3 separate regions of the Homo sapiens genome follow, and all the other regions are linked to region 3. The links are contacts of gene promoters, found by promoter capture Hi-C in blood cells and fetal thymus (Javierre and others, 2016). All regions are on one chromosome and are shown on one strand. Each heading gives the region's core, a stretch centred on a gene start or on the middle of the fragment in contact. The rest is flanking DNA. Distances are from core to core; before and after follow the strand shown.

Region 1 (2,720 bases), core at 124-2,623, 58 kb after region 3:
TCAGTTCAAAATATTTTCTAATTTCCCTCTGGATTTCTTTTTTTGGCCCATGGGTTATTTAGAAATGTGTCATTTAGCTTCCAAATATTTAGGGATATTTCAAAGATATTTCTGTTTTTGATTTATAATTCAGTTTCATTGGGATCAGAGAACATACTTTGTATGGCATAAATCCTTTTGAGATTAGTGAGATGTGTTTTGTTACCAGAATATGGTCGGTTTAATTAATGTTCTGTGTGCACTTAAAAATAATGTTTGTTTATGAATGATCTATAAATGTTAATTAAGTAAAATTGTTTGATAGTGTTATTCAAGTATTCTATATCATTAATGATTTTCTGTATAGTTGTTTTATAAATTGAGAGAATATTGAAATCTCATGCTACAATCATAGATTATTAAAATTTAAAATAATAACAGATCAAACACCAAATGTTGATGAAGACACAAAGGTAGAAATGCAAAACAGTTTGGTCATTTTTCATAAAGTTTCAATACACTTACCATACAACCCAGCCATTCTGCTTCTAAATACTTACCCAACAGAAATGAAAACAATGTTTAAAGCGGCTTCATTCATAATCATCCAAAACTGACAATGACTCAAATGTCCTATAATTGGTGAATGGATTAACAAACTATGACAGAGCCATACAGTGGAATAATACTCAGCAATAAAAAGAACAAACTACTGATACGTTCAACAACAAAGATGAATCTCAAATTGATTATGCTAAGTGAAAGTTAGACTTTCACTCAGCTACATGTGTATGTTTCCATTTATGATAATCTGGAAAAGGCAAAACTATAGAGACAAACAGATCAATGGCTGCCAGGGGTTAGGAGAAGGAAATAGAGTTTACTATGAGGAGACATGAGGTCACTTTTTGGGGTAATGTCTATGTCTTGATTGTGATACCAATTACACAATTGTATGCATTCATGAAACCTCACAGAACTATATACTTTTAAAAGGTGCTTTTATTGGATGTAAATTATACTTCAGAAATCTGATTTTTAAAACAAGCTTCTAAAAGATAACACTAGATATTATATTTAGGGGATAGTCAAAGACGTCTTTGAAAGATACAAAAAAATGGGTGACATCAGCAAGATGGTAGAATAGGAAGATCCAGAACTTCCTTCTCCCTATGGAGACACTGACTGAACAACAGTACATGGACCAGAAACCAGGACCATTCATCCCAGATGAATGAAAAAACAAACAAACAAAAACCAAAAAAACAAAAAACAAAAAACCAGCTGCACTGAAGCCAGTAGGAAAATTCATAGTGCTCACTTGTAATCCCTCCTCCTGGCTCAGTGAAGCAGATTGGGAAGGAACCACCAGCTTCCAGCTTCTCCCTGGGAGGGAAAGACTGAGATGTACATCCAACATGCAGACTTTTCAGAGGGCTGCATGATTAACCAGTTTCTGTCTTGCCTGAATCTAAGCACTGACAGGAAGAGGCACCAGACTGGGCTACTAAGAACAAAGGTGACAATTTAGACTAGCACACACTATCAGAGTCCCTCCTGCCGCTCTGTGGAATGAGTAGAGAAAACAACCCAACTTCCAGCTTCTCCTTGAGGAGGCAGATTTGGAGCATACATATCCAATGTTAGCCTTTGAGGGGTACCCAAGAAACTGGTTTCTGTCTTGCCTCTCTCAGACTATTGAAGGACCCAGCATATTCTAGAGGCCTGGGGGAAGCTTGTAGCCGCTCTAGAGAACTTGCAGTACTGCAAATAGACACCAGAGAGAGCAAGAGATAATGGACTCCTGAAAAAAATAAACCTGTAGATTCCTGTAATTGCGAATTTACATGCGTAAGTCTGGTGAAAGTATCCACAAAAAAGATTGGGGAGGCACCCAGAATCTTTAGCCAAGCTGATTGGTGCAGAATTTTCCCTGAATGAAGCCAGTATATAAAGACTGGGAGAGGTGGCTGATTTTACAAATGCATGGATCCCAATATAAAGTTATAAGGCACACAAAAAAAATAGGAAAGCATGGCCCAAAGGAACAAAATAAATCTCCAGAAACTGCCGCTAAAGAAATTGAGGTATATTAATTATTTGACAAAGAATTCTAAGTAACCGTAATAAAAATGCTCAACAAGCTCAGGGAAACAATACATGAACAAACTGAGAATATTAGTGAAGACACAGAAAATATAGAAAAGAACCAAACAGAGGCCAGCCATGGTGGCCCACACCTATAATCCCAACACTTTGGGAAGCTTAGGTGGGCGATCACTTGAGCTCAAGAATTCAAGGCCAGCCTGGGCAACATGGTGAAACTCTGTCTCTACAAAAAATACAAAAAATTAGCCAGGCATGATGGCATGCACCTGTAGTCCCAGCTACTCAGGAGGCTGTGGGAAGATCACTTGAGGCTGGGAGGTCAAGGCTTCAGTGAGCTGAATTCGTGCCACTGCACTCAACCCTGGGTGGCAGAGCAAGACCCTGTCTCAAAAAATAATAATAATAATAATAAAAATAACAGAAATTCTAGAGCTGAAGATGAAGAGTAAAATAATTGAATTCAAAAGTCATCTACAGCAGGCTTGATCAAGCAGAAGGAAAAATCAGCAGACTTGAAGATATCCAGTCAGAGAAGCAAAAAAGAAAAAAGAATTTTAAAGAGTAAAGAAAACTTAAGGGATTTATGAGACATCGTCAAATGGACAATATATGCATTATGGTAGTACTAGAAG
Region 2 (2,898 bases), core at 350-2,849, 64 kb before region 3:
CTCTGGGGCTGCAGGAGCTTGGAGAGCCCCTCAAGCATGCCTGCTGTACGGTGAGGGAAGGCCTTTCCAGTGAGGTAACAGTTGAATCTTGAAAGATGAGGAGTTAGTGGAAGGAAGGGGAAAATGGTACTCCAGGTGGTGGACCTAGCACAGACAAGCCAGGGAGGGAGGACCTGGTAGACCTGAGTAGCTGAGGCTTAGGGGACAAGGACGGGCAAGGCAAGGATGGGGCAGAAGGACAATGAATGTCAGGCTCAGGTGTTTGGCCATGGGGAGCCAAGGTGGAGGATAGGGGGAGGGGCCTGCCTCGGTCCAGATGTGTGCAGAGGTGCGATGGAGGAAGCTGACTGGAGCGGGAGGGTCAGAGGAAGCTGGAGGGTCGTCAGGGAGATAGCTGGGCAGAGAGGCTGGGGAGATGGGGAGCAACGTCTGAGATCCCCAAGAAGCAGTGTGGGCAGCCCAAACAGGCCCAGGCAGACATGACAGGAGGGAGCAGGCAGGAACTGAAGCAGGGGCTTGGGTCTCAGCCCAGATGATGACAGTGGTTGTGGGGCGGGGGGCTTCCTGTGCTGGACTATGTGGGGCTCCCACCCTGAAATCAGGGGGACGGTACCTCCACAGTCCTGGAGACAGTCACCCCCATTTGGAACCCCAATGCCGGGCCCCCAGCCACCCCTTGACCACTCACGGAGTTCAGCTCAAAGAGGGATTCAGGGGTCCCCTTAGGGACATAGAACAGCACATGGATGTTGGCTGGGAGGGAGACCAAGGCCTTCTTGTTGTGGAGTGTGACCGTGGGAGCTTCCCTCACCCGCAGGAACAGTAGGAGTTGCTGGTGCAGGGGCAGCTTCCCCAGGGCCTGGAGAAATGCAGGGGCATAACTTAGATGCCCCAGGACTACAATCAGTCAGTCAGTCAGCAAACACTCACTAAGCACCTACCAGGCACTGGGCAACGTGCTGGGCAACGAGGTTACAGCCTGAAAGACACAGGCCTGGGCTCAGCCCCCATGAGGCTGACACTCAGGTGTGGAGACACCGACCTGCAGGACTGCCAAATCAGACTTCCTGTCTCAAGCAGAGTCAGAATCCTCCCCGAGGCCATAGGCTCTGTGTCCTCCATCCCCTGCCCGCCTCTCCACTTCACCTGCTCTCCTCCCGCTGCTGCCCTGCGTTCTCCCTCCAGACTCACTGGCCACGTGGCTGCTCCTCCAGCTGCCAGGGATGCTCCCAGCAGGCGCCAGGGCCTTTGCACTTGCTGCTCCCTCTGCCTGGAAATATCTTCCCAGAGAACTGCAAAGTTCCCTCACTCACCTCCTTCACTCAAATGTTACCTCCTCACTGAGGCCTTGCAAAGCACCATGTCTAAAAGCACCAGCCAGCACTCCTAAGCCAGCTTCGCCACTCCATGCTCTTCCACCTTCTGACACTGTCTCTGTTTCTGTTTATTTGTGCAATGTCTGTCACCTCCAGCAGAATGGCAACCCCTTGAGTGCAGAAGCTTTTCTCTCCTTTCACCTTTTGCCCTTTGTGCAGCCCCAGCTGCAGGTATGCCCTTGTTCCATTGCAGGGCCTGTTACACAGTAGGTGCTCAGTGGATATACGCTGACTGCCTAAATGAGGCACACAATCAGGAAATTCTGAGTCTCATAATTGCAACGTCATGAGACTAAGGAAATTACAGAACCACAGAAGCTTGGAACACATAAGTATGTCCCTTGCCTGCTGGAATTTGAGTCTAGGTTTCCTCAAGCCCAGAATCCCTAAGGGGCAGGATCATCAGGACCAGGAATCACCTGATTCCACCCTCACATGCCACAGAATCTGAAGCCACATGGGGCTCTAAAGCTGCGAGGCCAGCAAATGGAGACCAAAGGATTCAGCCTCCAGAGACAAGCCCAGCTTCCCCATGCTGGAGGGGCAGGCCCAGCTTGCTGCTTCTGGATACCCCTGCCCCAGCCAACTCCACTTGCCCCATGTCCCTCTCCACTCCTACTCTCTGGAGGTTCTTCTGAATGTCTGACTCCAATCGCATCCCTTCCATGAGGCTCCTATGCCCTTTAGCCAAGGGACTCTGGAAAGCTGAGGCCCCGACCTCATTCATCCAGACTGCTTTGAATCACCAACTTCAAGAACTCACAGAGTTTGTCCTCTGTGCCCCCAAACCCAGCTTTCATTTCCATCCTCTCTGGTGAGAGCCCAGGCCCCTAGGCCTCTTTCCAACCTCTTTCAGAACCTGCTGTTACATAAGGACCTTGTAGTAGACATTTTAACTTCAGTACGAATTCCAGTTCTCACAGCTGGAAAGCAGCTGGTCCAGCCCCAGTTGAAGGATGGGAAAGCTGAGGCCTGGCCTGGAAGTCATGTACTTATGTCCACTAGTGAGACCTACCTGACACTCTCCCTTTTCTTTCCTCTCCAAGACAAGTGCCCTAGTCTTTTCTCTGGGGACATTGAAGACTAAGGTCAGGATGAAGTAAGCCAGTTGGTAGAAGGGAGCTCAGTAACCTGAAAAGACTTTTGTCCTTGTGTGCTACAGAAACAATTTCCATAGGATAAATGCCCAGTTGATTTCTGGGGCAGTCAAGCCCTAATCCTTTACTCTCTAAGCAAAATCTGCTATCAGGAAAGGATGTCGTGTTAGTCATTCACACTTTAGTGTGAATTTGGACTCAACTGTTCAATTGCAGTTGCCTGGAGAGCTGTATTGAGAAAGATTCTGGACTCCATTCATGGTCATCAGGAAAGAGCTACAATGATCAAAACCCATGAGAGCGTCACTCACCTCAGGGAGCAAAGCTGCCAGGTCTGTAGTTGTCAGTGGGACATCGCTGGGAACCTGGACCCCCAATGGGAGAGAGGGTTGGTGAGCACAGAGACAGAACAGGAATCCCTCAGC
Region 3 (2,700 bases), core at 123-2,622:
ATTGGTGTCCTGTTGCTGCAATAATGTATTATCACAAACTTAGTGACTTAAGACACAATTTATCATGTTACCATTCTGGAGGTCTGAAGTCCCAGATGGGTCTCCCTGGGCTAAAATCAAGGAAGTATTGGCAGGGCTGTGTTCCTTGCTGGAGGCTGTAGGAGAGGAATTGTCCACCTGCCTTTTCCAGCTTCTAGAAGCTGCCCTTATTCCTTGGCTCCTGGTCCCTTCCTCCATCTTCAAAGCCAGCATGTTGGGCTGAGTGCTTCTTGTGCTGCCATCTCCCTGCCTCCCTCTTCCATTTTTAAGGACCCTTGTCATTACATTGCACCCACATGGGTAATCTAGGGTATTCTTCCCATCTCAAGATCGACTGATTAGCAACTTAAATTGCTCTTCTAGTTTTAACTCCCTTTTGCCTTGTGACTTAACATATTTACATGTTCAGGTTTTAGTGTGTGGGCCTCTTTGAGGGACCATCGTACCACTTCCCATTGGTAATTAGCCTGCAATTTTAAGCAACTGCCACCAGGGGGCAAAAGTGAATTCATTTTAGCTTTGCTATCCAAATAGTCAAGCTCCCTACAGGCAGGGTGAACAGAAAAAACTTAGCCCGACATTTCCACTCGGTTATGCTTTTATTTTCCCCAGTAAAAAAGTAGAACTTTATTTTTGGACATAGAGTCTCACTCTGTTGCCCAGGCTGGGTGCAATGGCGCGATTTCTGCTCACGGCAACCTCTGCCGCCTCCCGAGTCAAGCAATTCTCAAGCCTCGGCCTCCCGAGTAGCTGGGATTACAGGCACACACCACCACACCCAGCCAATTTTTTGTATTTTTAGTAGAGAAGGGGTTTTGCCATGTTGCCCAGACAGGTCTCAAACTCCTGAGCTCAGGCAATCCACCCGCTTCTGCCTCTCAAAGTACTAGGATTACAGGCATCAACCACCGGGCCCAACAAAAAGTAGAACTTTATTAAAGCAACAACACATGCAATGTTATTTTGTGTTATGCACAATGTCCACCAGTGAGAAGCTCAGCATTACAAAATGCATTCAGGTGCAACCTAAGAAGGTGAAAAGCCTGGGAAGCTTGGGGCAGGAAGGGATCTAGGAAACAAGGAAAAGCATGGTTGGGTTACTGGAGCTTCAGCTCTCGCCCCTGTCCAGCTTCTGAGACCCCAGCATGGCCCTTCCTGTCTTGATGCCTCAATTTCCCCATCTTAAGAAAGGAAAGTGGGTCACAATGGCTTCCTCTGGGGGAGGTTCTAGGGCCAAGCTGGAGACTAGCCCCATCCCCTGCCCCTCCACCCACCTGCTCTGTGAGGTCACAATGCCAACTGCTCCACTGATCCTGGCAGATTCCACTTGGCACTTTTCAGGGGACATTCAGAGGCATCAGCCCCTTCCTCCTCACCAGCTCCCAGAGTTCCCATCTCCATCCCCAATCCTAAAGAAGGAAATCGATGCCACGGTCCTCAAGGAGCCCTGGGGACCCAGGCGCCCTACTCGAAGATGTGGCCCACAATCCCAGACCCCGGAGGTGAGGATGGCAGCCCCTCCCTTTGCCCAGCCCTTTACAGTTTACAAAATGCTGCCCCTCCACCCTGTCCTTGGAGATGAGTGGCATTGTCAACTGTACTGTACAGAGACAGCCACCAAGACCAGAGAGGTTTGGCAGTGGTATTCCCAAAGTCTCCCAGCCAGGAAGTGGTGAAGCAGCCATCCTTCCAGCACGCATTTATTGAGCATCTACTGTGTGCCGGGAAATGCACAGAGGACGGGGAACACGGTGTGGCACCAGTCTGATGTGCTCCGTTCCCTCATGGAGCTCACGGTCTAGTGCAGGAGACTGGTATGAAAGAAGGAAACAAGTATTTCGCCATCTTTATCTGTCAGAAAGCCTCTGAATGCAGGTGACAGAAATTCCAACTTAAAATGATGCCTATCTCTGGGCACCCAAATCTGGGTGTATATCCCAAGAGAGTATACCAAACAATCCCCAAGGGTGAGAAAAGAAATAACCAGGCTAGAATGTATGTCTTTCATCCTCTTTTAATTTATATTATTCAGGAATGTTACCATAAATCTGTACATTTGGGAAGGGTAAACAATGTATTAGTACAATTGGGTGTATATATAATTTATTAATAAACCAATATAAATACTCTGAGGTGGTATAAACAAAAATGTTTAAAGACCTTTGACTTAAGAAATAAGGGAAAATTTTAAATCTCACATATCAAGAGGTCCCAAGGTGCAGGGGGCTCCGGAGTGTGTTAATTCCTCAGTTCTGCCACCCAAGACCCAGGTTCCTGTCATCATTCTGCTCTTTTAGCCCCCTCTCATGGTCACAAGATGGCCACCACAGTTTCAGGTGTCACGCAGAAATGTGGCGTCTAGGGGAAGGAGAATAAGCATCGTTTTCTGTGGGTCTCATTTAGCTAATCCTAAACCTAACTTTTCCCCCAAGTCCCTTACCTCGTAACCACCCCCCTACCTCACCCTACCTCACCCCTGCAGACTTCCTCACCCTTGAACCAATCACAGCACAGGGAATGGGAGCACGACAGCAGGCTTCGACCAATCAAAATGGCCTAAAATCACATTGGGTAGGAGCAGACAAAGGAACAAAACCAAGCTTCTGCCAACCTCGGGGACATGGCGACAACCGCCTGTGACTGCCACAGCAACCTGGGTCT

What was found. The method cuts DNA at HindIII sites, captures the fragments that hold promoters and counts their contacts. A CHiCAGO score of 5 or more calls a contact.
Region 1: a contact is called between a fragment that was not itself captured here and the fragment with the promoter of SUN5 in region 3, in 4 of 17 cell types (activated CD4 T cells, non-activated CD4 T cells, total CD8 T cells and 1 more). The highest score is 6.4, in activated CD4 T cells.
Region 2: a fragment that was not itself captured here is called in contact with the fragment with the promoter of SUN5 in region 3 in 1 of 17 cell types (megakaryocytes); the score reaches 5.5 in megakaryocytes.

Annotation. Positions count from the first base shown.
Region 1 is chr20:32,944,933-32,947,652 of GRCh38, reverse strand. The region is part of intron 23 of EFCAB8 (EF-hand calcium binding domain 8); the gene reads right to left. Among named protein-coding and RNA genes, the nearest start is that of SUN5, 58 kb to the left of the region's middle. The HindIII fragment of the contact is 687 bases long and covers 1,030-1,716 here.
Region 2 is chr20:33,066,764-33,069,661 of GRCh38, reverse strand. It overlaps BPIFB3 (BPI fold containing family B member 3), which reads right to left. Exons shown (of 16, transcript NM_001376932.3): 10 at 2,785-2,838; 11 at 689-859. Among named protein-coding and RNA genes, the nearest start is that of BPIFB4, 11 kb to the left of the region's middle. The HindIII fragment of the contact is 194 bases long and covers 1,503-1,696 here.
Region 3 is chr20:33,003,105-33,005,804 of GRCh38, reverse strand. SUN5 (Sad1 and UNC84 domain containing 5) reads left to right here and starts at 1,372. Exons shown (of 13, transcript NM_080675.4): 1 at 1,372-1,541. The coding sequence starts at 1,465. The HindIII fragment of the contact is 1,549 bases long and covers 1,093-2,641 here.